Regions from separate parts of the Homo sapiens genome. Here all the other regions are linked to region 3. The links are contacts of gene promoters, found by promoter capture Hi-C in blood cells and fetal thymus (Javierre and others, 2016). All regions are on one chromosome and are shown on one strand. The core of a region is centred on a gene start or on the middle of the fragment in contact, and the rest is flanking DNA. Distances in the headings are between cores, read along the strand shown. Region 1 overlaps PXYLP1 (2-phosphoxylose phosphatase 1). Region 2 has its middle 50 kb from the start of RNF7. Region 3 holds the start of RASA2 (RAS p21 protein activator 2). Region 4 holds the start of LOC124909441 (a long non-coding RNA gene). Region 5 has its middle 92 kb from the start of RNF7. Region 6 overlaps LOC124909441 (a long non-coding RNA gene). Region 7 has its middle 20 kb from the start of RNF7.

Region 1 (3,696 bases), core at 343-2,842, 200 kb after region 3:
TATCTAACTGCATTCATTCCAATGTTTTTTATTTTTGTTTTTTTTTGTTGTTGTTGTTGTGTTGTTTGTTTTTGGCATGCAAAGATGAAGATTTGTGGAAGAAAAACTTCATTTAAAGAATAGCTAACAGGCCGGGCATGGTGGCTCATGCCTGTAATCCCAGCATTTTGGGAGGCCGAGGTGGGAGGACTGCTTGGGGCCAGGAGTTTGAGACTGGCCAACATAGTGAGACCATGTCTCTACAAAAAATACAAAAACTAGCCAGGCATGGTGGCGCAGGCCTATAGTCTCAGCCACTCAGGAGGCTAAAGCAGGAGGATCACATGAGTCCAGGAGGTCGAGGCTGCAGTGAGCTGTGATTGTACTACTGTACTCTAGCCTGGGTGACAAAGAGATACCCTGTCTCAAAAAAAAAAAAAAAAAAAAGAAAAAGAAAAAGAAAAAAAACATTTGACAACAAATGGCTGTATCTTTTTAGTGGAAAGCAGACCAGGTAACTCGAGTCCTGGACCTGGATCTGACTACCCAGGCCTTGTCTGCCTGGTCCACTGCTCCATCCCTGGAGCCCAGAGGGTGCTTAGCACATAGCAGATGCTCTAAAAATATATGTGAGTGAATTCAACTGTGAAGTGTCCCATCCTTGGATGTTTCATGAAAATAGCAAGCCTTCCATAATCTGTAGAAATGAATACGATAAGTTCCCATACGGTTTGTTAAAATATTCAGATTTTGATGAAAATATAGTCGGCCCTCCATCTCTTCAGATTCTGCATTGGAAGATTCAACTGTGGATCCAAAAATACTTGGAAAAAACCCAATAAGAAATAACAATACAACAATAAAAATAATACAAATAACAACTATTTACACAGCATTTACATTGTGTTTGGCGTTATAAGTAATCTAGAGATGATGTAAAGTACATGGGAGAATGTGCGCAGGTTCTGTGTAAATACAACACCATTTTACATAAGGGACTTGAGCATCTCAGATTCTGGTATCCAAGGAGGATCCTGGAACCAATCCTCTATGGATGACTGTATTAAAACTAAAGGCTAGTGTGGATGAGACTAGTGTACTAGTCGTACACTAAAATCTATTCTCTTCTTAAGAACTTGGTTAGATCCTATTTCTGAGGTCCTGAAATGAGGTAAAGCCGCATTCGCCAACAGAACGGAAAGATGTATGCCACTTCTGGGTTCAGGCTTTCTGATCATGTGTATGCCCGGTTCACATTATCTTCCTTCCTTCCAGCCATTATTTAGGCATGGCAGCAACCAGGGTTCAACCATGTAGCCATCCCCAGGGGATGGTAGAAACAACAACCTGGAAGAAACCTGGGGCCCTGAATGACCAGGTGGAGCTGACTAGCACAATCTGGAACACACATTTCAGACCTTCACATGAGGAAGAGCTAAACTTCCTTGTTATTTAAGGTAATGCATTCATGAGTCCCTGTGCTACAAAATAAACTTACAAAATAGGTGTACCCTGACTAATGCAGACATAATTATATCCATGAAAATAAATTTTTCTTTAGGAAAAACTCATATTATTGTGGGCTCATTGAAAATCTGCTTTCATAATGAAAACTGAAATAATCAAAAGTGTTACTATCTTAAGCCTTCAAGTCATTCACTTTGGAGTCCTTATCTTCACTTTTATATGCATTATTCACATCTATTTATGCCACAAAGTTTGAGGCTGAACCCCAAGGCTAATCCACACACCCATGAGAACATTTATTGTTTATTTAAAATCTCAGCAATGACTGAGTTCTGCACAGAATGTTAAGGCAAGCAGAAGAGGCAGACGACCAGTGACACTGTTACCAGAAAACACAATCCAAAAGAGCATACATAGCTGGAAACTGGAATCACATTAGATTTTTAAAGTTCATGCCAATTAAAGAATTTATCATCTTACATATTAATAACATGAGATTATGAAAAGATAAGCCCAGTGTACTTTTCTTTGTTTTTAGCTTTCTGGACCTTTTGGTCTTACTTGATGTAATGCATTGCCCTGCTTTCCTTAGCTCTCATAACATTGCTCTCCTGACTTTTCCCCATTTGCAACATCCCTGGCCCCTTTTGAAATCCTTTTTCTCTCTGAGTACCACATGCTGGTGCTTCCCAGGACTCTGGTTTTGGCCCATCCCTCACTCCTCAGGTTCTGTCTGTAATATAAGCCCACAGCTTCAAATGCCATCAACATGCTGAAGATTCTCAACTAAACCTCTTTTTCCCAGCAAGCCAGTGCCCCTGAGCTGCAAAATTATACAGACTAGGCCAGGCAGGGTGGCTCACACCTGTAATCCCAGCACTTTGGGAGGCTGAGGTGGGCTGATCATGAGGTCAAGAGATCAAGACCATCCTGGCCAACATGGTGAAACCCCATCTCTACTAAAAAATAAAAAAAAAAAAAAATACAAAAATTAGCTGGGCATGGTGGCGCGTGCCTGTAGTCCCAGCTACTCGGGAGGCTGAGGCAGGAGAATCGCTTGAACCTGGGAGGCAGAGGTTGCAACGAGCCAAGTTCATGCCATTGCACTCCAGCCTAGTGACAGAGCGAGACTCTGTCTCAAAAAAAAAAAATTATACAGCCTATTACTGACTAGAAACTGTCTCTTGAATGTTTCATGATAGCTCAAATGTAGCACCAATGCCTGTACTAACTTCCCCCCATACCTCCCTTCTGTGTTCTCTAATTCCAGGGAGGGGTACCACCACCAGCCAGACACCCAGTCAGAAACCTGGGCCCCATCGGGCCTGCCTTTCATACCCCTGTCCAACCTGCCACCAAGTCCTATTGATCCCACCTTGTAACCTTCTCTAAGACCCACTCACTCTCTCCATCTCTGCTGCCACTTCTGAGTTTCAGCTGCCATCATTTATTCATTCAACAAACATTTAATCACACCCCACCACTCATATGTCAGTCACTGTCCTAAGCACTTGGAATGCAGCAGCAGTGAACAAAAACAAATAAAAATCTCTGCCCTTAGGGAGGTTATATTCTAGCCTGGGGAAGCAGACAATACACAATGAACACTCTGTGTGTGTGTGTGTGTGTGTGTGTGTGTGTTTGTCTGGGTTAGAAAGTAACAGATGCTGTGGCAAAGAGAAGAGCAGGCTAAGGGGGCTGTGGGAGACCAGGGTGGAAGGAGGAGCACCTTGTCATTTTAACTGGAGTGTTCTGAGTAGGTTTTATTGAGAAGGTGACATTTGAGCAAAGACTTAAAGGAGGTAAGAGGACTGGCCATAAAGCTTTCTGTGGGAAGAGCCTTCTAGAGACAGAAACCAGTTTGTGCAAAGGCCCTGAGGCAGCATACAGTGCCTGAATGTGGAAGGAAGAGCTAGGAGCATTGTGGCTGAAGCGCAGTGAGTGAGCACGAGGAGAGTGGAGGGCAAGGTCAGGCGGGTTAGGGGTGGAGGAAGGGCACTCAGGCCTTGTGGGGCACTTTAAGGATGTGGATTCTGATTCTGAGTGAAGTCTCTCCTCTGGATCACTACCCTAATAATAACACCACTAGCTGCCACCAGCTTCCAATCCATCTTCCACACTATGGCTGTCAGAGACCTTCATCTTTTCATCCCTTTCACTGCCCGGCTCTCTCACTGCCTTCATGCCTGGACATACTCCCTTGCTGGGTATCGAAGCCTCAGATAACCTAGTTCCTACCCAGTTTTCCAC
Region 2 (4,008 bases), core at 206-2,705, 200 kb before region 3:
AAACGACAACAGAAAAAATACCTTTTTTTCTCTTTTTCTTCCCTGAAGTAGTTTTCACTGTTACAGCTTCAGACGATTTTGTAATCTGGTTCATAGTTGAACTTCCTCTCTGTTTGGCTGGTTGAAAAAAAAAAGACTTTTTAAAAAGTAGCCTGTTCAAAGTCAAATGAATGGGTTTCTGACACACCTTGATGTTGGTTATGGCCTTTATTTTATGTTCACTTTAGGCAGAGATATTTCTCACAAAAGAGAATGATCTGGCCGCTTGTCAAGATCACATTCACTTCAGTTCAGTCCTGTGGTTTTTTTTTTTTTTTTTTTTTTTGAGATGGAGTCTTGCCCTGTCGCCCAGGCTGGAGTGCAATGGCACCATCTCGGCTCACTGCACCCTCGCCTCCTGGGTTCAAGTGATCCTCCCACCTTAACCTCCAGAGTAGCTGGAATTACAGGTGTGCACCACCCCACTCGGCTAATTTTTTGTATTTTTAGTAGAGACGGGGTTTCATCATGTTGGCCGGGCTGGTCTCAAACTCCTGACCTCAAGTGATCTGCCTGCCTTGGCCTCCTAAAGTGCTGGGATTACTGGTGTGAGCCACTGCACCCAGCTGGGTCCTGTGGTTTTTGTGTTTCTTTCCTTAAAGTCTCAGGGTGAACATGCAACCAAGTAGAGCTCCAAGAACCATCCTGCCAGCCTCGTGTTGCTTCTTCTTTATGTTTCAAAGCTGCCGTCTATAAAAGTGACTCCAAAGCCCTGGAATTAGTAAGAATGTAGCAGGGAGGAACTCTTTTTTGGCATGTTTAAAGCAACATATTAGAACATATCACTCTGGAGTCATTCTGGACTCTTCCTTTCTCTTGTACCCTACATCCAATCCGTTAGGAAGTGGGATAATGCAGAGTCTGACTGCTTCTCGCTGCCTTCCCCGCTATTGCCCTTGTCTCACCTGGGTAGACAGCTCTCTCCTAGAGGTCAACAGCCACCCAACAGGCCTCCCTGCCCACCCGCACCCTTTCCTGCCCACAAGAAGAAAAGGGAATAATGTAAAAATTGACATATTACTTATATTTCAATTCTACTAATTCTGCAAAATCTTGTATTAAAAAGTATTTTAGGCCAGGCACAGTAGCTCAAGCCTGTGATCCCAGCACTTTGGGAGGCCAAAACAGGTGGATCATTTGAGGTCAGGAGTTTGAGATCAGCCTGGCCAACATGGCGAAAGCCCACCTCTACTAAAAAAATATAAAAATTAGCCGGGCATGGTGGCTTATGCCTATAATCCCAGCTACTTGGGAAGCTGAGGCCAGAGAATAGCTTGAACCCAGGAGGTGGAGATTGCAGTGAGCCGAGATCGCCCAACTGCACTCCAGCTTGGGTGACAAAGTGAGACTCCATCTCAAACCAACCAAAACAAAACAAAAAACAGCAAATAAAATTGTATTTCTACACTATAACAAGTAATTATGATTAAGAAAACAAACTTGTCATTGGGTCCTAAGGCATTTGGGCCCCTTTGGTTGTCATCAACTGAAAGCCCCTGTGGCTGACTCTGGCCAGAAGGAAGAGTTACCGAGAGGCCTGGGAGTAGCTCACAGAACAGGAGATCAAACATTTGGTCCTCAAAAAGCAGTGGTCTCAAACATTTTTGTTCCCATAACAACATAGAGGAATATTAAAAAGTTTATGGACCATCTTGCACATTTTTAGGTTAGTATCTAAGATTTTCAACGTCACTTTTTTTTTTTTTTTTTTTGAGACGGAGTTTCGCTCTTGTTGCCCAGGCTGGAGTGCAATGGCACGATCTTGGCTCACCACAACCTCTGCCTCCCAGGTTCAAGTGATTCTCCTGCCTCAGCCTCCCAAGTAGCTGGGATTACAGGCATGAGCCACCACACCCAGCTAATTTTATACTTTTAGTAGAGTTGGGGTTTCTCCACGTTGATCAGGCTGGTCTTGAACTCCCGGCCTCAGGTGATCCGCTTGCCTCAGCCTCCCAAAGTGCAGGGATTACAGGCATGAACCACCGGGCCCAGTTCATCATCACTTTTAAATTTTCAAAAGAGATTTTTAGATTATGGCAAATAGTGACATTTAAAAATAAAATCTGCTATATCATTCCCTTAAGTGTATCAAATGGAATATAAACCAAACCATTTGATACTCGCCATCACTTACCAGAATATCGCAACAACAGAAAACATGAGCAAACTCTTCTTTAGCAATTGACATTTTTACATTATTCCCTTTTCTTCTTGTGTTTTACATATATTTCCATTCTATTTATTCTGTAAAATCTTGTATTAAAAAGTATTTTATAGGCCAGGTGCGGTGGCTCATGCCTGAAATCCCAGCACTTTGGGAGGCCGAGGTAGGTGGATCACGAGGTCAGGAGCTCGAGACCATCCTGGCTGACACGGTGAAACCCCATCTCTACTAAAAATACAAAAAATTAGCCTGGCGTGGTGGGGGGCGCCTGTAGTCCCAGCTACTTGGGAGGCTGAGGCAGGAGAATGGTGTGAACCCAGAAGGTGGAGCTTGCAGTGAGCCGAGATCATGCCACTGCATTCCAGCCTGGGCGACAGAGCAAGACTCCATCTCAAAAAAAAAAAAAAAAAAAAGATTTTATAGCTAATCCTGTTATACTTCTTTGTAATAAAAATGTTACATGTACAAATACTCAAATTTCAAAATTTCTTGGGATCAGGCTGGGCGCGGTGGCTCACACTTGTAATCCCAACTTTGGGAGGCTGAGATGGGTGGATCGCTGCCATCCAGGAGTTTGAGACCAGCTCAGCCAGCGTAGAGAAACCCTGTCTCTGCTAAAAATACAAAAATTAGCTGGGTATGATGGTGGCCTGCACCTATAATCTCAGCTACTCCGGAGGCTGAGGCAGGAGAACTGCTTGAACCTGGGAGGCAGAGGTTGTGGTGAGCCAAGATCACACCACTGCACACCAGCCTGGGTGATGGAGTGAAACCCTGTCTCAAAAAAAAAAAAAAAGTTTCTTCTCCAGTTTTTCATCAATTTTTAGAAGTATGTAATTGATTCTAATTACATAGAAAAATAAATTTTTTGAATGCATTGCTCAGTGAGATGGATAGTGCAGTTTTATTTATTTGTTTTTATAATGAATTCATGTATTCATTGAATATTACTGCTAGCATGAGGCAGAGTTCAGCATCAATTCTATTTCCATTTTTCATTGTTATAGTTGAAATGCTGAGAAACCTTGTTCACACGTGATGGGAATGGAATAGGGTTGCCAGATTTAGCCTCTCTTTCCCATCTACTCCTCACCCTACTGTCTAATATGTGGCTGTCGGCTGAAGTTAAATGTCAGCTATGGAAAGCCATTTACAGGGGAGTAAGCAGCTGTTGTTCTTGTCTGTCCTGCATTTGTCCTCCCATCTGCCTACTCTTTGGGGGACTGCCAATTCCCCACTGCAAATCCAGTGGTGCTGGCAGGGCTGCCCGTCACAGTGCTCTACCCTCCAGGATGGGCGTGGGATGCGTCCTGGCCAATCACATTTCGCTCTGACCTGAGATTGGGCCAAGAGGTCAGTATGTGACCCAAGGAGGGTCAATCAGAATCTCCGTATGGGATTTGACACATAGTCATTGGAAGAAAGAAGCTTTCACTTTCTGTTTGATTACAGTCATGATGATGTAGCCCTGGGACTGTTGGCAGGCACATCAGCTGTCTTTTCCTGCTTGGAGAAAGCCTGGCTGCAGCCGGAGGGAGAAAGGCCAACCCTTGGAAGGGAAGTAGAGTCAAGAGCAGCAAATTCTGGGTCTCCTGGTGGGGTGTTTTGAGCCCCTGAATTCGATCATCTTTGAAGACAGCTGTACCCATGGATGTCCCAGTTATGTCAGCCTATAAACCCATACTGGTCTTTAATCCTGTTTGGTTGCTTTCACTTTTAACCTAAAGAATCTGATTAACACACTATAGTAGTTTTCTATTGCTGCTGTTGCAAATGACCACACACTTAGTGCCTTAAAACAATAC
Region 3 (4,023 bases), core at 1-2,500:
AAGAAAATAATGCTAATTTTCGACAAATGCAAAAATAAATGTTATTGATCTCTCTTACAAACAGAAAACAAAAAGCACTTCATCTAAATAAACCACTGTGAAAAAAAAAATGGCAACCTGACACCAAAGGGTCGTTTTTAAAACTAAAATGTTCAAATGACAGAACTCAAATAATCTGTCCACAGTAATGCTCGGACAACTCTGAGCAAAATTTCGTATTTAGTCAACTGGTAGGCTCGCTCACTAAAGTAGCAATTACACGCATGAGAAGGAAGGGAATTAAGCGGGCTGAGTGCGGGCTGGGTGATTGTGTTTTGAGACCTGCTCACAGGAAGCCACTACATCCTGCCTTTAGTCCCGCCTGTCACGCCGTCCCTCGATTCAAGTCCCGGCCGCAGCGAGGTGGGGCAAGTACAGGTGTCCCGCCGAGCTCCTCCCGGGGCGCTCACCCGCGAACAGACCGCGCGGTAGCCACTCGGGCCCCAGGGCGGCCCGTTTCCTGCAGCTCAGGGCGCCTTTTTCAACCTCTCCCAGGCTCGCCGAGCCCAGGAAACGAACAGCCCCCTCCCCTCGGGCCAGCCCCACTTCCCAGCCCGCCACCTCCTCGGGCCGCGCCTCCGTATAATTACTGCTCGGCTCCCACCGCGGGGCCACTCCCCAGCGCCCGCAGCCGCGCGAAGGCCTGAGTCTGAGGGCGGCCGGAAGCTCCTCACGCCCCCGGACCGCGCCCCCGGCCGCGCCCCGGACTCCAGCGTCCCCGCGTCCAGGCCGCTCCCCACGACCGAGCCCCTCACGCCGGCGCAGCCCGGGCTCTCCCACCCCAGGCCCATCTCCAGCTCCCACTCCCTCCGGAGAGCAGCAGCCCCGGCCCACGCCGCCCCGTCGAGGCGACGCCGCCCCCCAACACACCCCCTTCCAGCCTCAACCGCGCCCGGCCCAGGCCCCCTCCCGGGCCCGCGATCCCAGCGCAGCTCGGCGCCGCCACCGCCGCGAACCCGCCGCCCCCTCAGCCTCGCGCCCAGCGCCGCCAGGGCGTCCCCTCAGCCCAGCCCCCGCTTACAGATCTTGCCCCGCAGGCTCTGCAACACTCGAACCTCGCGACTGTCCTGGTCCCCGGCCTCGGGCTCTGCAGTCGCACTCGCCGCTGGCGCCTCGGAAGAAGCCGCCGCAGCAGCAGGCGCCGCCGCCGCCATGGTGCCGCCCGGCCCGTGCCGCAGCCCTGCCGCCTGCGTAGCCGGGCGAGGCGGAGCCCAGCAGCGGCCTAGGCCCAGGCCAGCCGCGCGCCTGGCCCCGCCCCCGGGCCTCGGCCCGACTCGCCCCGCCCCGCCCCGCCCGCCGCGGCCCCGCCCCCGCCCCCCCCGGGTCTCCATTCACCGCCTTCGCCACCCCCGAGCCGGGCTACCCTGCAGAGAACCGTACTCCCGGCTTGGGGCGCTGGCTAAGGGTAGCTCCCAGTCGTGGCTCTGAGCGGCCTTAAAATCCCCACCAGGAGAACGCCCCGGCCCTCCCGTGATCCCTAAATCCTCCCGGGAATTGGGCTCCCCCAATGAATAGACCTGCACATCTCCTAACGCTCGCGGGAAATACAGGCCCTTCCCAATCAGGGAAACTCCCTGTGGGAAGAAAATAGAATGGAATTTGGCAGGTGGGTGGACCTCAAAAGTATCTTATTCAAAAGGAGGCAAGAGATGCATTTGAGGCTCTTCCAGTATTATCCAAATACTCCCCGCCAGCAAGCCAAACTCCTCCCACACAAATACTCTTTACTAGGACCAATTCTCTGCAAAACCTGGTTCAAGAAAAGGACCAGCCACCCCCAACTCCAGCGTGAGTGCAGTGCCTGAGACCCTCTCATAGAGAAATTCTGAAGCATTTACCATCACTTTTGTATTTCAGGAACAGAAAAAGCAAAGAAGGGCTCCCCCCCGCCACCGCCACCACTACTAAAAGTTGGCTTTGTTAAAAAGTTGACTGACCCTAGGAAATGTGTAAATCTTTGACTAATTGTTAGCTTTATTTCAAGGGAACTCTTTACAGTGAGTAAACTGCATGAATAATACCCTGGTATGTGATGAGGAAGACAATTTCCTGGTGTTGAGGTTGTTAACTACGCTGCCCTAAGAAGGAAGAAACTGTGACTTAATCGGGCAGGGTAATTCTTTTCCAGGGCAACAACAGGAATAAGCCAGTCAGTCAACAAATATTTTTTGAGGGTCAGACATAGTGATGGCCTCAGACCTCAGAGACTACACAAAGGTCAAGATGAAGAGAGCTCCAGCTCATTCTGGAGGGAGACACAGAAAAGGCCAGAGGCACTGGGAGATAAGAAATAGGACGGGGAAACCTGAAAACTGAAGACAAACGCGCCGCCTGTGCAAAGGCTGGACAGCCCCAGAGAATGGTCAGAGTTTAACATGGACCTGGCCAGCGAAGCTTCCAGTTCTGCCTGTGTTGCAGGTGACTTCTATTTCCCCATGTGATCTTTACACTTGTTGGATAAAGTGAACCACTTCCTCTTATATGAATGTTTTGCTGTCATTTCAAACATAAGTCCAAAACTTAATTTCCTGTCTCCCTTTCCAAATCTGAGTTCACATCTTATACTGTTACTCAGGCCAGAAACTTTGACTTTTTCTTATCCCTTGTCCCAATGCTGTTTTCAGTTGCCACATCCTTCTGACTCTGCTGAAATCTCTTCCTTCCTTTCCATTCTCTGTCATTGCCCTTGTTAAAATTATTCTCATTTAAAGAGTATCAACGTGTTACAGGGTTTTTTCCCCCTTATTTTTAAAGGCATCCCTTTTTAGAATCAGACATAGAGCCTGTTTCTACCCCTTTTACATTTGGGCAAGTTACTCAACCTTCCTAAACCTGTTTCTGTTTCTTCTCTTTCTTTCTTTCTTTTTTTTTTTGACAGTCTTGCTCTGTTGCCTAGGCTGGAGTGCAGTGGCACGATCTCAGCTCACTGCAGCTTCAACTTCCTGGGCTCAAGCTATCCTCCCATGTCAGCCTCCTAAGTAGCTGGGACTACAGGTGCGCGCCACCATGTCCAGTTAATTTTTGTATTTTTGGTAGAGATGGGGTTTTGCCATGTTGCCCAGGCTGGTCTTGAACTTCTGGGCTCAAGTGATCCATCCGCGTCAGCCTCCCAAAGTGCTGGGTGTAAGCCACTGCGCCCGGTTGAACCTGTTTCTTTAACAGTAAAGTGGAAATGCTAAACTTTCTTCTTTGAAGGGTTGTTATTAAGATTAAATAAGTATTGGGAGCAGGGTGTTAAGTGTCTAGTGGAATGCTGAGCACGTAGTAGGATTACCTCAGTAACTGACCTCATGCTTTTGACTGGAACTCTGGTAATAAGTCCCCCATCCCTCTCATTCCTCCTACATACCACTTAAATTAACTTTCCTAACAAAAAAAATGGAGCTTATCAGTTGCCTGCTCAAGAGGACATCAGTGGCTTCATTTATCCCTTCAGCCAGCTAGCAAGAGCACACTACAGGTAATGAACAATGCTAGAAATGACTAAAGTTCAAATTCTTCAGCCAAGAGTTGGAACTGGATCCAGCGTACCTGACTCCTCTGATCTCCAGCCACACTGAGCCCCTTTTCTCACCAGCCTGATTCTGGCCTTCCTCCTGCTTGGCCAAGCGATGCCTCATCCATCTATTTCTTTCTCCAATAAACAGAGAAATTATTTGAACCTTTGGACAAATGTATCCATGGATAAAGTATCAATGTACAAATGGACAAATGTATCCAATGGACAAACGTATCCAATGGACAAAGTATCAATATCTTTGTCCATTAGTGTCAAAATCTTCTAACTTCCCTTCCTTTTCACTAGCTTAACCCCAAGTGCATAACTCTGTTACTAAATGGTCACTAAAGGTATGAAAACAATTTTACATAAAGGGACACTCCACTTTTTTGTTCTTCCAGACAGTCTTCCTTTTGCAGATTTCGGACTTATACCGTTTCACTAAAATCCCCAAACTCCATTGCTTTTTCATCCGAAGTCACTTC
Region 4 (4,257 bases), core at 1,645-4,144, 180 kb after region 3:
TTGCTTGAGCCCAGGAGCTTGAGGCTGCAGGGAGCTATTACTGCCATTGTACTCCTGCCTGGATGACAAGGGTGAGAGCTTGTCTCCAAAAAAAAAAAAAAAAAAAAAAAGAAAAGGGGATGATAATCTTTAAGTCACAGGTTACTGTGAGATGAAACAAGGTTCTGCGTAAAAAGCACACTGCATGTCTTGGGCGTTGAAATGCTCAACAAGTGCTGGCCCATCCTGCACATAAAGTGCATCTCGTGCTCCATTTCCAACCCTCTTAGTCTTTTTCCAGTTACTGATTTCTCTTTTTTGCCTTAAATAACAGACATTTATTTCTCACAGGTCTGGAGGCTGAGAAGTCCAAGGTCAGGGAGACAGCATTTTCAGTTGCTAGTGAGGCCTCTCTTCCTGGCTTGCAGATAGCCACCTTCTTACTGTGTCCACACATGGGGGTGGGGAGGGAGGGAGAGAGAGAGAGAGAGAGATTGATTCTCTTGCCTCCTGCCCTAGTGTTTCTCTGATGCCATGGTGTACAAGGCACCCTCCTGCTGGGCAGTCATGCACATGCAAGTCAGCAGAGCAGGGAAGGCAGCTGTGGCTGGTAGCCAATGGATAAATGTTTCCCACAAGTGAACAGTTCTGAGATGTATTTCCCAAGCCTTCTTAGGAGGTCCTGTGGGATAGAGCACCCAGTTGCCCCTGTGCATCCTTACACTGGCTTTCCCTCCTTCCCCTTCTGTCCCCTCTTTCACTCCTGCTCCTTTGGTACCACATCCCCTAACCAACTTAACAAACTACTACATTTAAGCTTTTTTTTTTTTTTTTTTCTCAGACTCTGCTTCAAGGGAGACCAGGCTAAGACAATCTATTATAACAAGATTCCGTTTTCTTGGAAAAGCTACATTAGGAAAAAATGGGAAAAGAAACAAAAGGAGCTAGAAATATAAATATCCATAACAGAGATGCAAGAAGGGGATCATCCCCTTGAGCAGAGTAGACTCTTGACTGTAGCCCAAGTGTCAAGTTTACTTATTCACTTGTGTGGACGTAACAGAGTAGGGGGCGCAGGGAGAGGTACCAAGCTAGAGGGACCTGGAAGAGTTTATAGTCTAGCATAATTCACTTTCCAGTCCTGAGTTGGCCACTTACTATTGACTGTGTGATCTTATGTACACGTCTACCTCTGAGCCTCAGAGCTCAGAGCCTTTCCTTACGTGTGAAATGGGGATAATAAATGCCTACTTCAAGTGCTCACTCATACTGTGAGATACACAGACTACATTAGTTGAATGTTCAGCCTAGTGTCCAGCCCATGGTATCTGTTCAACAAATGGTAAGTCACAGCCCTCTGTAATTAGCTTTGGATTGTCTGAAATCAAATTTTTCCTACTGCTTCCTATGTGCATACTTAGCTTCTGCAATAAAATGGTAAGCCTCTCAAAGGCAGTGATAGAAGATCTATTGGTCATCAATAGATACTTATCCCTTTTCTAGAAATGAGTCCAGCTTTCCTGCCCATGCTAGCAGAGACCTTAGCCTCTAGGATTTGCTTGCTTTCCATTCAGGTCAGTTCCCAGGAGGCAGAGTCTGAGACAGACGTGTGTGCAGGGGGTTGCTGGGGAGTGCTCTCAACACTGTGAAGGATGCTGGATGAGGCAGAAGTTGGGCTATGTTGTAGTCACAAGGCCTTGGCTTGACCCCAAAGGCGCTCTGAAGCTGAGATGGCCCCTCAGGGTTGTCCCTGGGCCTTCCGATCCCTATTCTGACCAATCATTGGATGTGGCTGCCCTGGGAAGGAGCATGTCCTTCAGCAGATGGCTCTCTGCTCCAGAGCAGTGCCCTGAAAGCACCGACAGCCAAGCACCACCAGCAACTGGGGGAAGAAGTCCTGAAGTGGGGGATCAGGGTGGCGCAGCATCCACACCTTCAGTGTAATGGTGGCTTTGGAGAGTGTGGTAGTCACTGCGAGTTCTCTACCCAGTACCCACTTTCCCTTTTTTCTCGAGTGAAAGGAGGCTGAGCTTGTTTGGGACAGCAGTGTGCCCAATAAAGATCCTCACTTCCCTCGACTCGTTTACAGCAGAGGTAGCCAAGGGGCCCCACTCTGGCCAGTGAGAGGCGAACAGGAGTCTGGGTTCCTGATGACATAATGGCGCCACTGGCGAAAGTGAAAGGCTTTATTGCTTAGGCCACTGTCATCAGGTTTCGGTAGCACGGAACCAAAGGCAGTCCTAAATGGTTCAGGAGGCATTATCACATACCCTGCTTAAGAGCATGGTCCTGCGTGTGATATGGGCACAGCGGGAATCCCAGCTCTGCTGCACACTAGCAGCCGTGTGGAGCCTCAGACGAACTACTCCTCGTGGTTCCCTTTTCTGTAAAAGTGGGAATGACAGTAGTATTCTCACTACCATTTCAACATATAACACCAGGGTAACCAACTTGTTCCAGTTTGCCTGGGACTTTCCTGTTTTTTAAGCACTGAAAGCCCCACATCCTGGGAAACTACTCAGTGCCAGGCAAACCTGCACAGCTGCTCAACCTATTAAAACACCCTCAAACTACCCTGCTTCCTTTACAGATGGAAGACTGGAAAAATTGTGTTGATGCTGCCCCCTAGTGGTTGAATGTAATGTAACTGCTGCAAAGATACATTTTACATTATAAGTTTTCTTGAGAATAGCAAGCCACAGATGGTTAGAGGCAGAGTTGGAATATTCCCCTAACCATTTAGATTTAAATGTAGAACTGCTTTAACCCTATTATATTATTCATCGATATTTGCCAGCAAATATACTATCTGGTAGGACTATTGTGAAGATTAATGAAATGGTGTAAATTTTCCCATGGTATCTCATATAGTGGTTGTTTTTTTTTTTTTTTTTTTTTTTTTTTTAATGACAGGGTCTTACTCTGTCATCCAGGTGGAGTGCAGTGGCACAATCACGGCTCAATGCAGCCTCAACCCCCGTGGGCTTAAGCAATCCTCCCACCTCAGGCTCCCAAGGACCTGGGACCACAGGCATGTGCCACCACTCCCAGCTAATTTTTTTACTTTTAATTTTTTGTAGAGATAGGGTCTCCCTATGTTGCCCAGGCTCATCTCAAATTCTTGGGCTTAATGTGCTGGGATGACAGGCATGAGCCACCATGCCCAGCTATAAGTGCTCTTCAGTTCACTGGTATCATGTGAACTTGAGTTAGACTCAGCTGTGACTCTTCCTTTGAAAAAGTGACTTCAACCCCTGCCGGGCTCCCCCCGCCTGTTTTCCTCATTCACATTAGGGAACTAGGACTTTCCTCAGAATGTTGTGAAGATTCATGAAGAAACACTTGTGGAAACCACGTAGTTGGCACTACATGGCCAACTTTACTGCTGACAATGTTGTCTGGAAGGCAGGCCTCAGGCCATCCCTCTGCTGAGGGGCTCTGTAGCTCTCAGGAGCTGAGCTGGCCCTCAGGGATGCCTTCTCCTCATCAAGGCCAGTCTCCGCTGGCAGTCGGGCTTCAAGAAGTCCTGCCCAGATGCTCTGATGTATTCAGCCGCTTCCTCTTCAGCAGAAGCTATTACTCATCTGAGCTGGCTCCTGGGCAGGCACAAATACAGGGGGACAATCCAAACATTCAGTTCAGTGGCCTTGGGCAATGGGAGTTAACTGGTGTTTAGGCCAGAGCTTTGTGCTGGCTGCTCTTAAAGCCACAACTGCAACATAAACCCCAGCTATTTTCTGCTACTCGTGGTTGTGTTTAAACACAAGGTGGCACACCCACCCTTGTCTGGACTGCTAAATCTGTTCAGAAGGCTTCCCTGAGATTCAGAGAAACAGAAGCATGTATCTCTGCCTCTCTCTAGACAGTCTTTAAGACTTCTGGAAAAAGGAATCACCTAAATCTTCCAGAAAGTCTAATTCTGCTATGGCTATGAAAACCCTCAAATAGGCTTAATAGCAATATTAGATTAAGATCCTCAATTTCATTTAAAGTGAAGTTAGAGAAAGAATACTTACATCAGGCTGGGCATGGTGGCTCACACCTGTAATCCCAGCACTATGGAAGGCTGAGGCGGGTGGATCACCTGAGGTTGGGAGTTCAAGACCAGGCTGACCAACATGGAGAAACCCCGTCTCTACTAAAAATACAAAATTAGCCGGGCGTGGTGGTGGCACATGCCTGTAATCCCAGCTACTCAGGAGGCTGAGGCAGGAGAAACGCTTGAAACTGGGAGGCAGAGGGTGCAGTGAGCTGAGATTGTGCCATTCTACTCCAGCC
Region 5 (3,951 bases), core at 107-2,606, 160 kb before region 3:
CCAATTAGAGCTGTGTCTGGGCCCAGCAGATGACAGGGGAGGAGAAGGAAAGCAGAGCAACACTTCAGCTGCCTGGGCTAGCTGGGGGATCTGTGTGAAACACCCGAAAACATCTCCCAGGAACTTCCAGGGATCTGAGGTCCAAAAATAGCAAGTAAAGACAAGAACTAGTGAGAGGTAGGCCATATATTATTTTTAAAGTATTTTTGCTATTATTAACATATGCCTTATTTTCATATAAAAATTAAGTGATGCCATAGGAAAGGGAACCCCCGCTACTCACAGTCAGATCTCTGTTTACTGAGGCAAATTATCAACCTGTCAGGTCAAAGTTCAATTTGGACAGACTGGTGTTGAAACAAATTACATTCTGTAGCAGTTCGTGTTCTGCAGTTGCAAGCAACAGAAAATATTTCCAATTAACTAGGGCAAAAAAAAAAAAAAGAGGATGTATTGGCAGAATCCTTGTGATAAGTAATTTTAGTGTCAACGTGGCTAGGCCATGGTACCCAGTTTTTGATCAAACACTGGTCCAGATGTTGCTGGGAAGGCATTTTTTAGATGTAATTAGCATTTAAATAAATTGATTTTGAGTAAAGCAGATCACTCTCCATGGTGTGGGTGATCGCTAATCTAGTCAGTTGAAGACCTTAGGAGAAAAGACGGAGAAGTCCCTCGAGGAAGAAGGAATTCTGCCTCTGGACTGCCTGTGGACTTGAACTGCAACCTCAGCTCTTCCCTGGGTCTCCAGCTGGCAGGCCTGCCCTGCAGATTTCAGACTTGCCAGCTGCTACGATTGCACGAGCCAATTCTTCAAAATCTCTCTCTCTCTCTCTCTCTCTGTTTCTGTCTCTCTCTCAAGACACACCCACCCCCATCCTAGTGGTTCTGTTTCTCTGGAGAACCCTGACTAATACACTGCTAAGGGACAGCTGAACAACTAGGCCTTGGGAAAGGCAGAAAACAGGTCACCCCTGGGGACCTGGGCATGTACCATTGCACTATACTATGTGCCATTAGATGACTCCACAGCACCATGATCTGTGTCTGTGTCTATTCAAGATCCAACTTCTTGAAAGAGGAAGAATTGGCTGGGTCTTTCTATTGCAAGGTGTGGGGTGCTATTGCCAGATAAGAGGTGGAGAGGAAACAGGTCAGAGGAAAAACAATAAACATTCCCTAGAATGAGGTTCCTTGAGGTAGATATGTTCGCTATCAAAGTACACCTTGAAACAGAACCTCTCAAATGCTGTCTTTGACTGACATGGGTCCTCAGCGCAGCCATATGTAAAAGACAGCGCCGTTCAGTGCCAAGCTCCTGTGTTCTGTGTAGAATGGCCAACACAAATTGTTTTTCGTGGTCAACTTTTATGAAAAACTCTCATGGAGGGGAGTTAGATTCATATGAGAAATTCACCCAGAATCAAATATAAAAATAAGTTATATAGTCCAATTTAGAGCAAAAAATAGAGGTTGTAGAATTGGATATGATAATGTGCAAGTTACTTCCTGTTTATTCTTGGCTTCATTCCTGCCCTGGTACACTCTGAACTACTGGGGTTGAGAGGTTGCAAACTACATTTCCCAGGCCCCTTTGCCAACTGGATATCCGTGGGCTCCTCCAATCAAAGGACAGGCAGGAGACCAGAGGGTAGGGAGAAGGGAGGAGAGTCTTACACTGGCCTTCATTCCCTGGCAGTTGTTGGCAGGTCCTCGCAGTTGCTGTTGAGGCAGCAGAAGTAGGGTCATTCCGAGGCCCTAGAAGCCCAGATAGAAGCAGAACATTTTCAGTGGTTTTATCTCTTCATCTCTTTGATGGATTTAGAACTAATTGCAATGGTGGCTCCAAAATTGTGGCAGCAGATGTAGGGTCTCAGAGCCCCACTCAGGGTGATATTAGCAGCTTCTGGTCTTTGGTTATCACTGTTTCTTTTTTTGTTTTGTTTTGTTTCTCCAGCATTCTTTCTTCAACCTTTTGCTCTTCTAGCCCTTCTAACAATTTTGTTGAAAATTCCCCAAATTAGGCCAGGCGCGATGGCTCACGCCTGTAATCCCAGTACTTTGGGAAGCAGAGGCGGGTGGATCACCTGAGGTCAGGAGTTCAAGACCAGCCTGGCCAACATGGTGAAACCCCATCTCTATTAAAAATGCAAAAATTAGCCAGGCATGATGGCACATGCCTGTAGTCCCAGCTACTTGGGAGGCTGAGGCAGGAGAATCACTTGAACCCAGGAGGTGGAGGTTGCACTGAGCTGAGATTGAGCCACTGCATTCCAGGCTGGGTGACAGAGGAAGACTCTATCTCAAAAAAAAAAAAAAAAAAAAAAAAAGAAAAGAAATTCCCAAATTAAATTTTCTCTGTTTGAAATAACTGGAGTGTTTTCTGTCTTTCTGACTGAACTCTGACTGATACAAAAGGCACAAGTGTTGCTTCTGAGTTTCAATGTAAGGAAACTTAATTCCCATATTTAATTTTGGCTCTGTTTAAAATTTGAGCAGACAGTTTACAGTAGTTAGGTCATCTTGGCCTCCTCAATTTTCCTGTTTGGGTTTTTTTTGTTTTTGTTTTTGTTTTTTTGTTTTTTTTTTTCAGACGGAGTTTTGCTTTTGTTGCCCAGGCTGGAGTGCAGAGGCATGATCTTGGCTCACTGCAAACTCTGCTTCCCGGGTTCAAGCAATTCTCCTGACTCAGCCTCTCGAGTAGCTGGGATTACAGGCACTTACCACCAAGCCCAGCTAATTTTTTGTAGTTTTAGTAGAGATAGGGTTTCACCATGTTGGCCAGGCTGGTCTCGAAATCCTGACCTCAGGTGATCTGCCCACCTCAGCTTCCCCAAGTGCTGGGATTACAGGCGTGAGCACCAAGTCCATCCTCTTTTTTGGGTTTTATCAAGAAAGATCTTGGCCGGGTGTGGTGGCTCACACCTATACTCCCAGCACTTGGGGAGGCCCAGTTGGGCATATCATTTGAGCTCAGGAGTTTCAGACCAGCCTGGGCAACATAGTGAGACCTCATCTCTACAAAAAAAATACACAAATTAGCTGGGTGTGGTGGTGCACGCCTGCAGTCGCAACTACTCGAGAGGCTGAGGCAGGAGGATGGCTTGAGCCTGGAGGGGGTCAAGGTTGCAGTGAGCTGAGATTGTGCCAGTGCACTCCAGCCTGGATAACAGAGTGAGACCTTGTCTCAAAAAAAAAAAAAAAAAAAAAAAAGGGAGAGAGAAAGAAAGATCCTCAGGGGCTAAGGAGCATCTTTAAGATCATGTCTGGGTGGAACACAGTGCAGAGGCACACAATCTGGCTGAGAAGACACAAGACTTTGGGGCCTTCCAGAGGGCCACTCCTCCCTGGGGCCGGCCCTTGTCTGTGATCCCAGGTCACCTCCTGCCGGCTCAGGCCAGCTTTACACCCTTGCCCTCACATTTCTGGCCTCACCTGGAAGAGCTCTTGATCCTTCCCATGTGAGTTCACTGTTGACCCTTACCCGTCACTGTCACTGCTTCTGGAAGCCTTATACTGACCACACCTCTTCCTGCAGTGCCTGGGCGGGCCGCCAGGAGGCTCTCTTATGCCAAGTCCAATCACACTGTGCTCCACCAACTCCAGTTGAGCAAACACTAATTTTGAAATAGCAGATTCTGCCTACCAAATTAGCAGTGATTTTTAAAGAATGATAGTCTGTAATACTCAGTGACTCAATATTGAAGAGACTGTGGTGAGAAGGTAGTCTCCTATATGCTGATGGGGGTATAAATGGAGGCTTTTCTCGAGTGAGATTTGCCTGTATAGATGAGGTCTACAAGTTCCACAGGTGGGAACCTACTCTAGGAAATAAATTAAATTTAGGTGTAAGAGCTCAAATGCTTTCAGTTGCCAGTGATAGAAAACTCAGCCAGGCGCGGTGGCTCACACTTGTAATACCAGCCCTTTGGGAAGCTGAGGCGGGCAGAT
Region 6 (4,260 bases), core at 855-3,354, 170 kb after region 3:
CCACTCTTTTGCTGCCTCTTCACATGGGCTTTTCTCTGTGCCTCCATGTCCCTTGTGTATCTCTTCTGTGTACAAGTTTCTTCTTATAAGGAGACCAGTCATATTGGATTAAGGACCACTCTAATGGCTTCATTTTAACTTAACCACCTCTTTAAAAGCCCCACCTCCAAATACTGTCACATCCTGAGATACTGGAGGCTAGGGCTTCAATCTATAAATGTTGAGGAGATACAATTCAGCACATGACAGCGCCCCTTTGCAGATTCCTGCTCTCTGATTGCCCTATGATTCACCACTAAGGAAGCCAGTGACCACAGGGTCCTCCACTTCTTAAAAGAATGCCCACTCCAAACTAAGAGAGAAGTGGGAGAGTCTTGGGACCTGCACACCTTAGGCATACCTGTGCTTGACTACAGAGTGAGCCTCTTTTCATGTCCTCCCAGGATTTGGGACAGCTTCCTGAGTTTTATGAGTGACACAGTGAGTTTCTATTAAAAGCAGCTGAAATGTCCATTTTGTACCTCAGGAGCACATGGGAAAGATGCAGACCATTGGCCATCAGAGGCTTTAGACTAAGGAGTCTTCAAAGAGCTCAGGCTGCTTTGTAGAAGCAAAATACAAGGTAATAATAGAGTCAAGATAACAGGAAGTAAAAGAACTCTGCAAAGCACAGTTAGTACCACTCTGAAAATCACTGTTTCCTGTTTGCTAACAAATCTCATTCTCCTGAAGGACCCTGGTCAATGTGAACAGGTCCCATTTGCCAGTGGCTGTAGGTCAATTTGCTGAATGCCAGTTGTTTCCATTTTACATGTGTAGTCCCTGCCAGTCCCACCCCTTCTCTTCCTGTCCCTCTAAGTTTCTTCAGTTGTTTCCAATCTCTCTTGTTTTTTTTCCACCAGTCCCTCTAAGTGCCTTTTATCTCCTCTCCCCCTCCTCCAATCAATCCTGGTTCTTCCAAATCCCTCCTGGCCCCACACATCCCCCCCTTTACATTCCAGTCCTTTAGTACCTCCCATTGTGTCCACTCCCCTAGCCCCTCCCACTCTTCCCCAGCTCCCTACTACCTCAAAGTGATCACAAGCATTTTAATGTTGATAAGGGGGCCAAATTGCCTACCACAAATGCTGTACCAATTTACATGCACATCAACATTAAACTCAACAAAAAGACTTGATCTCAGAAATACCTTCAATAACCCTATTACTCTTTAACTATCTGATAATATGCTTTGTGAAAATAAACATCTTACTGCTACTTTATTTAGTATTTTTTTGAATACTAGTAATGTTGAAAATGCTGTCATATGTTGGTTGTCCAATTGTGTTTCTGACTATGTAATTACCTGTGATATGGTTTGGCTGTGTCCTTACCCAAATCTCATCTTGAATTCCCATGTGCTGTGGAAAAGACCTGGTGGGAGGTAATAGAATTATGGGGGCAGGTCTTTCCATGCTGTTCTCATGATAGTGAAAAAAGTCTCATGAGATCTGATGATATTATAAGGGGAGTTTCCCTGCACAAGCTCTCTCTTTGCCTGCTGCCATTCATGTAAGATGTGACTTGTTCCTCCTTGCCTTTAGCCATGATTGTGAGGCCTCCCCAGCCATGTGGGACTGTAAGTCCACTAAACCTCTTTCTTTTGTAAATTGCCCAGTCTCAGCTATGTCTTTATCAGCAGTGTGAAAATGAACTAATACATTAAATTGGTACCAGTAGAGTGGGGGCATTGCTGAAAAGATACCTGAAAATGTGGAAGTGACTTTGGAACTGGGTAACATACAGAGATTGGAACAGTTTGGAGGGCTTGGAAGAAGATAGGAAAATGTGGGAAAGTTTGGAACCTCCTAGAGACTTGTTGAATGGCTTTGACCAAAATGCTGATAATGATATGGACAATGAAATCCAGGCTGAGGTGGTCTCAGATGGAGATGAGGAACTTGTTGGGAACTGGAGCAAAGGTGACTCTTATGTTTTAGCAAAGAGACTGGCAGCATTTTGCCCCTGTCCTAGAGATTTGTGGAACTCTGAAATGGAGAGAGATGATTTAGAGTGTCTGGTGGAAGAAATTTCTAAGCAGCAAAGCATTCAAGAGGTGACTTGGGCATTGTTAAAGTCATTCAATTTTATAAGGGAAGCAGTGCACAAAAGTTTGGAAAATTTGCAGCCTGACAATGCGTTAGAAAAGAAAATCCCATTTTCTGAGGAGAAGTTGAAGCCCGCTTCAGAAATTTACATAATGAAGAGCCAAATGTTAATCTGCAAGACAATGGGGAAAATGTCTCCAGGGCATGTCAGAGGTCTTCATGGCAGCCCTCCCATCACAGGTCTGGAGGCCTAGGAGGAAAAAGTAGTTTCATGGGCTAGGCCCAGGGTCCCTGTGCTGTGTGCAGCCTAGGGACTTGGCGCCCCGTGTCCCAGCCACTCCAGCTGTGGCTGAAAGGGGCCAATGTAGAGCTTGGGCTGTGGCTTCAGAGGGTGCAAGCCCCAAGCCTTGGCAGTTTCCACAAGGTGTTGAGCCTGCGAGTGCACAGAAGTCAAGAATTGGGAGTTTGGGAACCTCTGCCTAGATTTCAGAGGATGTGTGGAAACACCTAGATGTCCAGGAAGAAGTTTGCTGCAGGGGCAGGGCCCTCATGGAGTACCTGTGCTAGGGCAGTGCAGAAGGGAAGTGTGGGGTAGGAGCCCCCACACAGAGTCCCTAATGCAGCACTGCCTAGTGGAGCTGTAAGAAGAAGACCACCATCTTCCAAACCCCAGAATAGTGGATCCACCAACAGCTTGCACTGTGCACCTGGAAAAGCTGCAGATACTCAACGCCAGCCTGTGAAAGCAGCCAGGAAGGAGGCTATACCCTGCAAAGCCACTGGGGTGGAGCTGTTCAAGACCATGGGATCCCACCTCTTGCATCAGCGTGACCCAGATGTGAGACATGGAGTCAAAGGAGATCATTTTAGAACTTTAAGATTTTACCGCTCTGCTAGATTTCGGACTTGCATGGGGCCTGCAGCCCCTTTGTTTTGGCCAATTTCTCCCATTTGGGACAGCTGTATGTACCCAATGCCTATACTCCCACTGTATCTAGGAAGTAACTAACTTGCTTTTGATTTTACAGGCTCATAGGTAGAAGGGACTTGCCTTGTCTCAGATGAGATTTTGGACTGTGGACTTTTGAGTTAATGCTGAAATGGGTTAAGACTTTGGGGGACTGTTCAGAAGTGATGATTGGTTTTGAAATATAAAGACATGAGATTTGAGAGGAGCCAGGGGTGGAATGATATGGTTTGGCTCTTTGTCCCCACCCAAATCTCATCTTGAATTCCCATGTGTTGTGGGAGGGACCTGGTGGGAGGTAATAGAATCATGGGGGCAGGTCTTTCTCATGCTGTTCTTTTGATAGTGAATAAGTCTCATGAGATCTCATGGTATTATAAGAGGAGTTTCCCCGCACAAGCTCTCTTTGCCTGCTGCCATCCATGAAAGACGTGACTTGCTCCTCCTTGTCTTCAGCCATGATTGTGAGGCCTCCCCAGCCATGTGGAACTATAAGTCCATTAAGCCTTTTTCTTTTGTAAATTGTCCAGTCTTGGGTATGTCTTTATCAGCAGTGTGAAAATAGACTAATACAGCCTGTTAACATTCTTTTTCCATTTTTCAATTGGGTTGCCTTTTTCTTACTGATTTATTTTTTATTTATCTTGTGAATATTTTTCTTCTACATATACCCTGTCTTCTAACTAACTGGGCTGAGACAGATTGAATATTCCTTAAAATGCTGTTATACAGATATAAAGGAATACTGGCCAACAAATATTTTGCAGAAATGTTCAAAAACTGTTAAAAGAATACCATCCAGTATGAATTGCCAAAAACCTTGTAAATAAGTAAAAGGAGCAAGTAAATGTGGTGAATTGGTCAATCATTGAATTGGCTTTTAGCAAATTAGTCTGTTTATTTTACCAGCATGTCTTCTCAAATACCTCAAAATATGACATCACTTCTTAGTTTTATATTTCCATTTTCCCCTCATATTCATTACCTTTATTTCTTTCCTTCTTTAATCATGTAGGCAATATATTTTATTGTGGAAATAATTTAAATATATACAGGGAATTGTAGCAGGCATTTTTTTGTGCCTACCTAATAGTCATGCCCTGTCTTCCATGTTGGCAAAGCCCAAATTTTGCTCAAGTATCTACTAATCTTGTTAATTGAATTATTTAATTCTCTAATATTATCACAGGAGCTGGGTGTGGTGGC
Region 7 (4,017 bases), core at 46-2,545, 230 kb before region 3:
GAAAAAAAATGTTTTTTGAGACAGAGTCTCGCTGTGTCACCCAGGCTGGGGAGAAGTGGCATAATCTTGGCTCACTGCAACCTCCATCTTCCAATTTAAGCAATTCTTGTGCCTCAGCCTCCCAAGTAGCTAGAATTCAGGCATGTGCCACCACGGGAAATTTCTTAAAGTGCAGGCCTTGCACTGGACTGCTGACTGGTCTTTGGGACTCTCTGGCATCATGAGTGAATAAGAAATCTGGGCAAAGGCCTGGACTCCTGGTCAGCTTCAACCTCTTGTCAAATCACGTGTCAGATCATGTGATGACGGCAGGCTATGTGCCCTCACCTCCTTCATCTATAAAACTGGCCTGAAAAAGGCTGTTCTGTCTGTTTCGTAAGGTTGTAGTGAAAACAGAATGAAGTCATTTCTGTGAAAGCATTTTGCAAATGCAATGCCGCTGATGGTATATTGAGTGCATACTTATTACATGCATATTATGTACCTAGCACTGCAGGGATTAAGAGAGGTTTGACACATGGCCTCTGCTCTGAAAGAAGTTATATGACTATCAATAAAGCAATTTCAAGCCCTTACCATGGGCTGCAGGTATGAAATTTCAGTTAGGGTCCACATTGAATATGAGTCTACTTTCTCGCTCATTGTATATATTTTCCACTGATTCAGCAGCTGGAATGCAAGGCCAGAGCTGAATGGTCCTGCCAGACTCTCTCAAAGGTCTTGCTCTTGAGGAAACAGTCGGCCTAGTCAGGATTTGACCAGCCTTGGCTTCCTGAACTGCCTGGTTGTGTGCACTGTCTTCAGACAAAATGAGTGGACAGCAGGGATGTGAGGCGGAACAGAGGGTCCACAGAAGGAGGTCAGGAAGTGAGGAGGACAAACTTCATAACTCAATGATTCTACATCTAGGTCGACTCCAGAGGCTTTGGATCTCACCACTACACCATGCAGCCTCACATGAGCTAAGGTTTGATGGAGCATTCACTACACGCCAGCTGTGACCAGGGCCACCCACATGGTTAAGTGCTTGTGCCCTGCACAAGGTGCCTTCCAAGAGGGTAAGTGGGGCTGAAATCAAACAGAGATCTGCTTGCCAAATGCTGGGCTCCAAAGCGTGGACCTGGAAGGGGAATTTCCTCTGATTCATTTGCCAGAGGTGGTGACTTTGTAATTCATCTGTGCAAAATATTTCAAGTTCAAGACCAGCCTGGCTAACATGGTGAAAACTCGTCTCTAAAAATACAAAAATTAGCCAGGCATGGTGGCGAGTGCGTGTAATCCCAGCTATTTGGAAGGCTGAGGCAGGAGAATTGCTTGAACCTGGGTGGTGGAGATTGCAGTGAGCTGAGATCACACCACTGCACTATAGCCTGGGTGACACAGCGATACTCTGTCTCAAAAAAAAAAAAAAAAAAAAAAGACTTAAATTGAACTTTCAGAAATTAAAAAGTACAATGTCTGAGATAAGTAAAACACATTGGATGGACTTTGTAGCATAGTAGACATTGTAGACAATATGTGAAGACATAACAACAGAAACTACCCAAAGTGAAATGCAGAGGACAAAAAGACCGAAAAAAAAAGAACACAACATCATTTAGCTGTGGGACAAAATCAAGTAGCCTAACCTATATATAATTAGAGTTTCAGAAGAATAAAAGACAGGAGTGATAGAAAAAAAATACTTGAAAAGGAGTGGTCTAAAATTTTCTAAATTTGATGAAAACTGCAAACGCATAGATCTAAGAAGTTCAACAAACTACAATCTGAAAAAACAAGAAGAAAGTCACACTAAGCATGTCATACTTAAATTGCTGAAAACCAGTGATAAAAAGAAAGTCTTAAAAGCAGCCAGAGGCTGGGCATGGTGGCTCACACCTGTAATCCTAGCACTTTGGGAGGCTAAGATGGGCGGATCACTTGAGGCCAGGGGCTTGAGACTAGCTTGGGCAACATGGCGAAACTCTGTCTCTACTAAAAATACAAAAAAAATTTAGCTGGGCATATTGGTTGCACGCCTGTAGTCCCAGGTATTTGGGAGGCTGAGGCACAAAAATTGTTTGAACCGGGGAGGCAGAGGTTACAGTGAGCCAAGATCACGTCACTGCACTCCAGCCTGGGTGACAGTGAGACTCTGTCTGAAAAAAGAAGAAGAAGAAGAAGAAAAAGCATACAGAGGAATAAAAACAAATTATATACAAAAGAATAGAGATAAAAATGATGTCTCTTCAGAAACAATATGAGCAGAAGATAGTGGAGCAACATCTTAAAAGTATTAACTGTCTGCTGGGAGTGGTGGCTCACACCTATAATCCTAGCACTTTGGGAGGCCAAGACAGGTGGATCACCTGAGGTCAGGAGTTTGAGACCAGCCTGGCCAACATGGTGAAACCCTGCCTCTACCAAGAATACAAAAATTGGCCAGGTATGGTGGCAGGCGCCTGTAATCCCAGCTACTCGGGAGGCTGAGGAAGGAGAATCACTTGAACCCAGGGGGTGGAGGTTGTAGTGAGCCGAGATTGCGCTACTGCACTCCAGCCTGTGCGACAGGAGTGAGACTCCATCTCCAAAAAAAAAAAGTATTAACTATCAATCAAATATTTTGTACCCGGCCAAAAAAAAAAAACTTTATAAATGAAGGCAGCATAGACTTGTTAGATATACAAAGGCTTAGGGAATTCATCACCAGCAGACCAGGATTACAAGGCATGTATAAAGTAAGTCCTTTAGACAGAAGAATATGATATCACATAGAAATGTGAATATAGCCAAAGGACTAAAGAATGCCAGAATGGTAAATATGTGAATAAACATAAAAAACTCCCCCCTTATTAAAAAAACAACTGCTTAAACTAGACATAATAATAATGTATCCTTGGATTTATAACACTGGTAAAGGTAAAATATATGACTACAAAAACACAAAGGATAGGAAGAGAATGGAAGTATACTGTTGTAAGATTCTTATACTATAAGTGAAGTAGTATAAAGTTATTTGAAGGTAGACTGTAATAAGTTAAAGGTGAAGGCTGTAAACACTAGAGCATCCACTAGGAAAAAAAAGACTAAGAGGTATAGCTCACGAGCCAATAAAAGATATAAAAATGGACTTATAAACATTACTTAATCCAAAAAGCAACAGAAAACTAGTTTAAAAGGAACAAGGAACAGATGAGACAAATAGAAAACAAATGGCAAGATGATAGATTAAAAACCAAACAAACCATAAAGATAATCACATTAAATATAATGGTCTAAACAATTAAAAGACAAAGATTGTCAAATGGATAAAAAAAGAAGTTCTCAGCTGTATGCTGTCTATAAGAAACCCAATTTCAATATAAAAACACAGATAGGTTAAAACCAAAGGACGAAAACAGACAAATTATGTAAATATTCATTTAAAAAAACCTGTAGTGGCTATATTAATATCAATCAAAGTAGGGAGCATTACCAAGGATAAAGAAGAGCATTTCATAATGACGAGTGTCAATTCATCAAGAGGCACAACAATCAAAAATGTTTATGTACCTAAAAACAGAGCTTCAAAATACATGAGGCAAAAATTGATTAAACTACAAGGAGATATAAACAAAATCACAATTTTCCCCTCTCTCAATAATTGATAGAACATGTAAAAATTTGTACATATATAGAAGACTTCAATAACACTGCCAACCAACTTGACCTAATTGACATTTATGGGACATTCAATCCAGTAACAGCAGAATACACATTCTTTTCTCATGCACATGGAACATTTACCAAGATAGATCAGATCTGGGCCATAAAAGAAATAAAACAAGTGTGTTCCTTTTTTCCGCTAGAGATGAGATCTTGCTATGTTGCCCAGGCTGATCTCAAACTCTTGAGCTCAAGCAATCCTCCCACCTCAGCCTCTCAAGTAGCTGGGACTACATGACCACACCAGGCGTGGGACCTGTAGTCCCAGTTACTTGGGAGGCGGAGGTGAGAGAATCGCTTGAACCCGGGAGATGGAGGTTGCAGTGAGCCGAG

The links. The method cuts DNA at HindIII sites, captures the fragments that hold promoters and counts their contacts. A CHiCAGO score of 5 or more calls a contact.
Region 1: a fragment that was not itself captured here is called in contact with the fragment with the promoter of RASA2 in region 3 in 1 of 17 cell types (non-activated CD4 T cells); the score reaches 5.5 in non-activated CD4 T cells.
Region 2: a fragment that was not itself captured here is called in contact with the fragment with the promoter of RASA2 in region 3 in 2 of 17 cell types (neutrophils and monocytes); the score reaches 10.8 in neutrophils.
Region 4: a fragment that was not itself captured here is called in contact with the fragment with the promoter of RASA2 in region 3 in 4 of 17 cell types (activated CD4 T cells, non-activated CD4 T cells, total CD4 T cells and 1 more); the score reaches 6.9 in activated CD4 T cells.
Region 5: a contact is called between a fragment that was not itself captured here and the fragment with the promoter of RASA2 in region 3, in 1 of 17 cell types (neutrophils). The highest score is 7.2, in neutrophils.
Region 6: a fragment that was not itself captured here is called in contact with the fragment with the promoter of RASA2 in region 3 in 9 of 17 cell types (naive CD8 T cells, total CD8 T cells, naive CD4 T cells and 6 more); the score reaches 7.5 in naive CD8 T cells.
Region 7: a fragment that was not itself captured here is called in contact with the fragment with the promoter of RASA2 in region 3 in 1 of 17 cell types (neutrophils); the score reaches 6.1 in neutrophils.

The regions. Positions count from the first base shown.
Region 1 is chr3:141,281,875-141,285,570 of GRCh38, reverse strand. All of the region lies in intron 4 of PXYLP1 (2-phosphoxylose phosphatase 1), which reads right to left. Among named protein-coding and RNA genes, the nearest start is that of PXYLP1, 52 kb to the right of the region's middle. The HindIII fragment of the contact is 3,358 bases long and covers 1-3,271 here.
Region 2 is chr3:141,686,541-141,690,548 of GRCh38, reverse strand. It overlaps the pseudogene LRRC78P. Among named protein-coding and RNA genes, the nearest start is that of RNF7, 50 kb to the left of the region's middle. RefSeq lists an enhancer at 3,694-3,903. The HindIII fragment of the contact is 4,356 bases long and covers 1-3,633 here.
Region 3 is chr3:141,484,254-141,488,276 of GRCh38, reverse strand. It overlaps RASA2 (RAS p21 protein activator 2), which reads right to left and starts at 1,250. Exons shown (of 24, transcript NM_006506.5): 1 at 1,061-1,250. The coding sequence starts at 1,193. RefSeq lists a silencer at 462-1,341. The HindIII fragment of the contact is 5,296 bases long and covers 1-2,435 here.
Region 4 is chr3:141,301,921-141,306,177 of GRCh38, reverse strand. LOC124909441 (a long non-coding RNA gene) reads right to left here and starts at 2,345. Exons shown (of 4, transcript XR_007096119.1): 1 at 2,250-2,345; 2 at 1-422. The HindIII fragment of the contact is 4,192 bases long and covers 799-4,257 here.
Region 5 is chr3:141,644,633-141,648,583 of GRCh38, reverse strand. No RefSeq gene overlaps it. Among named protein-coding and RNA genes, the nearest start is that of RNF7, 92 kb to the left of the region's middle. The HindIII fragment of the contact is 6,213 bases long and covers 1-3,951 here.
Region 6 is chr3:141,317,352-141,321,611 of GRCh38, reverse strand. It overlaps LOC124909441 (a long non-coding RNA gene), which reads right to left. Exons shown (of 4, transcript XR_007096119.1): 4 at 1-2,337. Among named protein-coding and RNA genes, the nearest start is that of ZBTB38, 49 kb to the left of the region's middle. The HindIII fragment of the contact is 8,550 bases long and covers 1-4,260 here.
Region 7 is chr3:141,716,393-141,720,409 of GRCh38, reverse strand. It overlaps the pseudogene LRRC78P. Among named protein-coding and RNA genes, the nearest start is that of RNF7, 20 kb to the left of the region's middle. The HindIII fragment of the contact is 6,066 bases long and covers 1-4,017 here.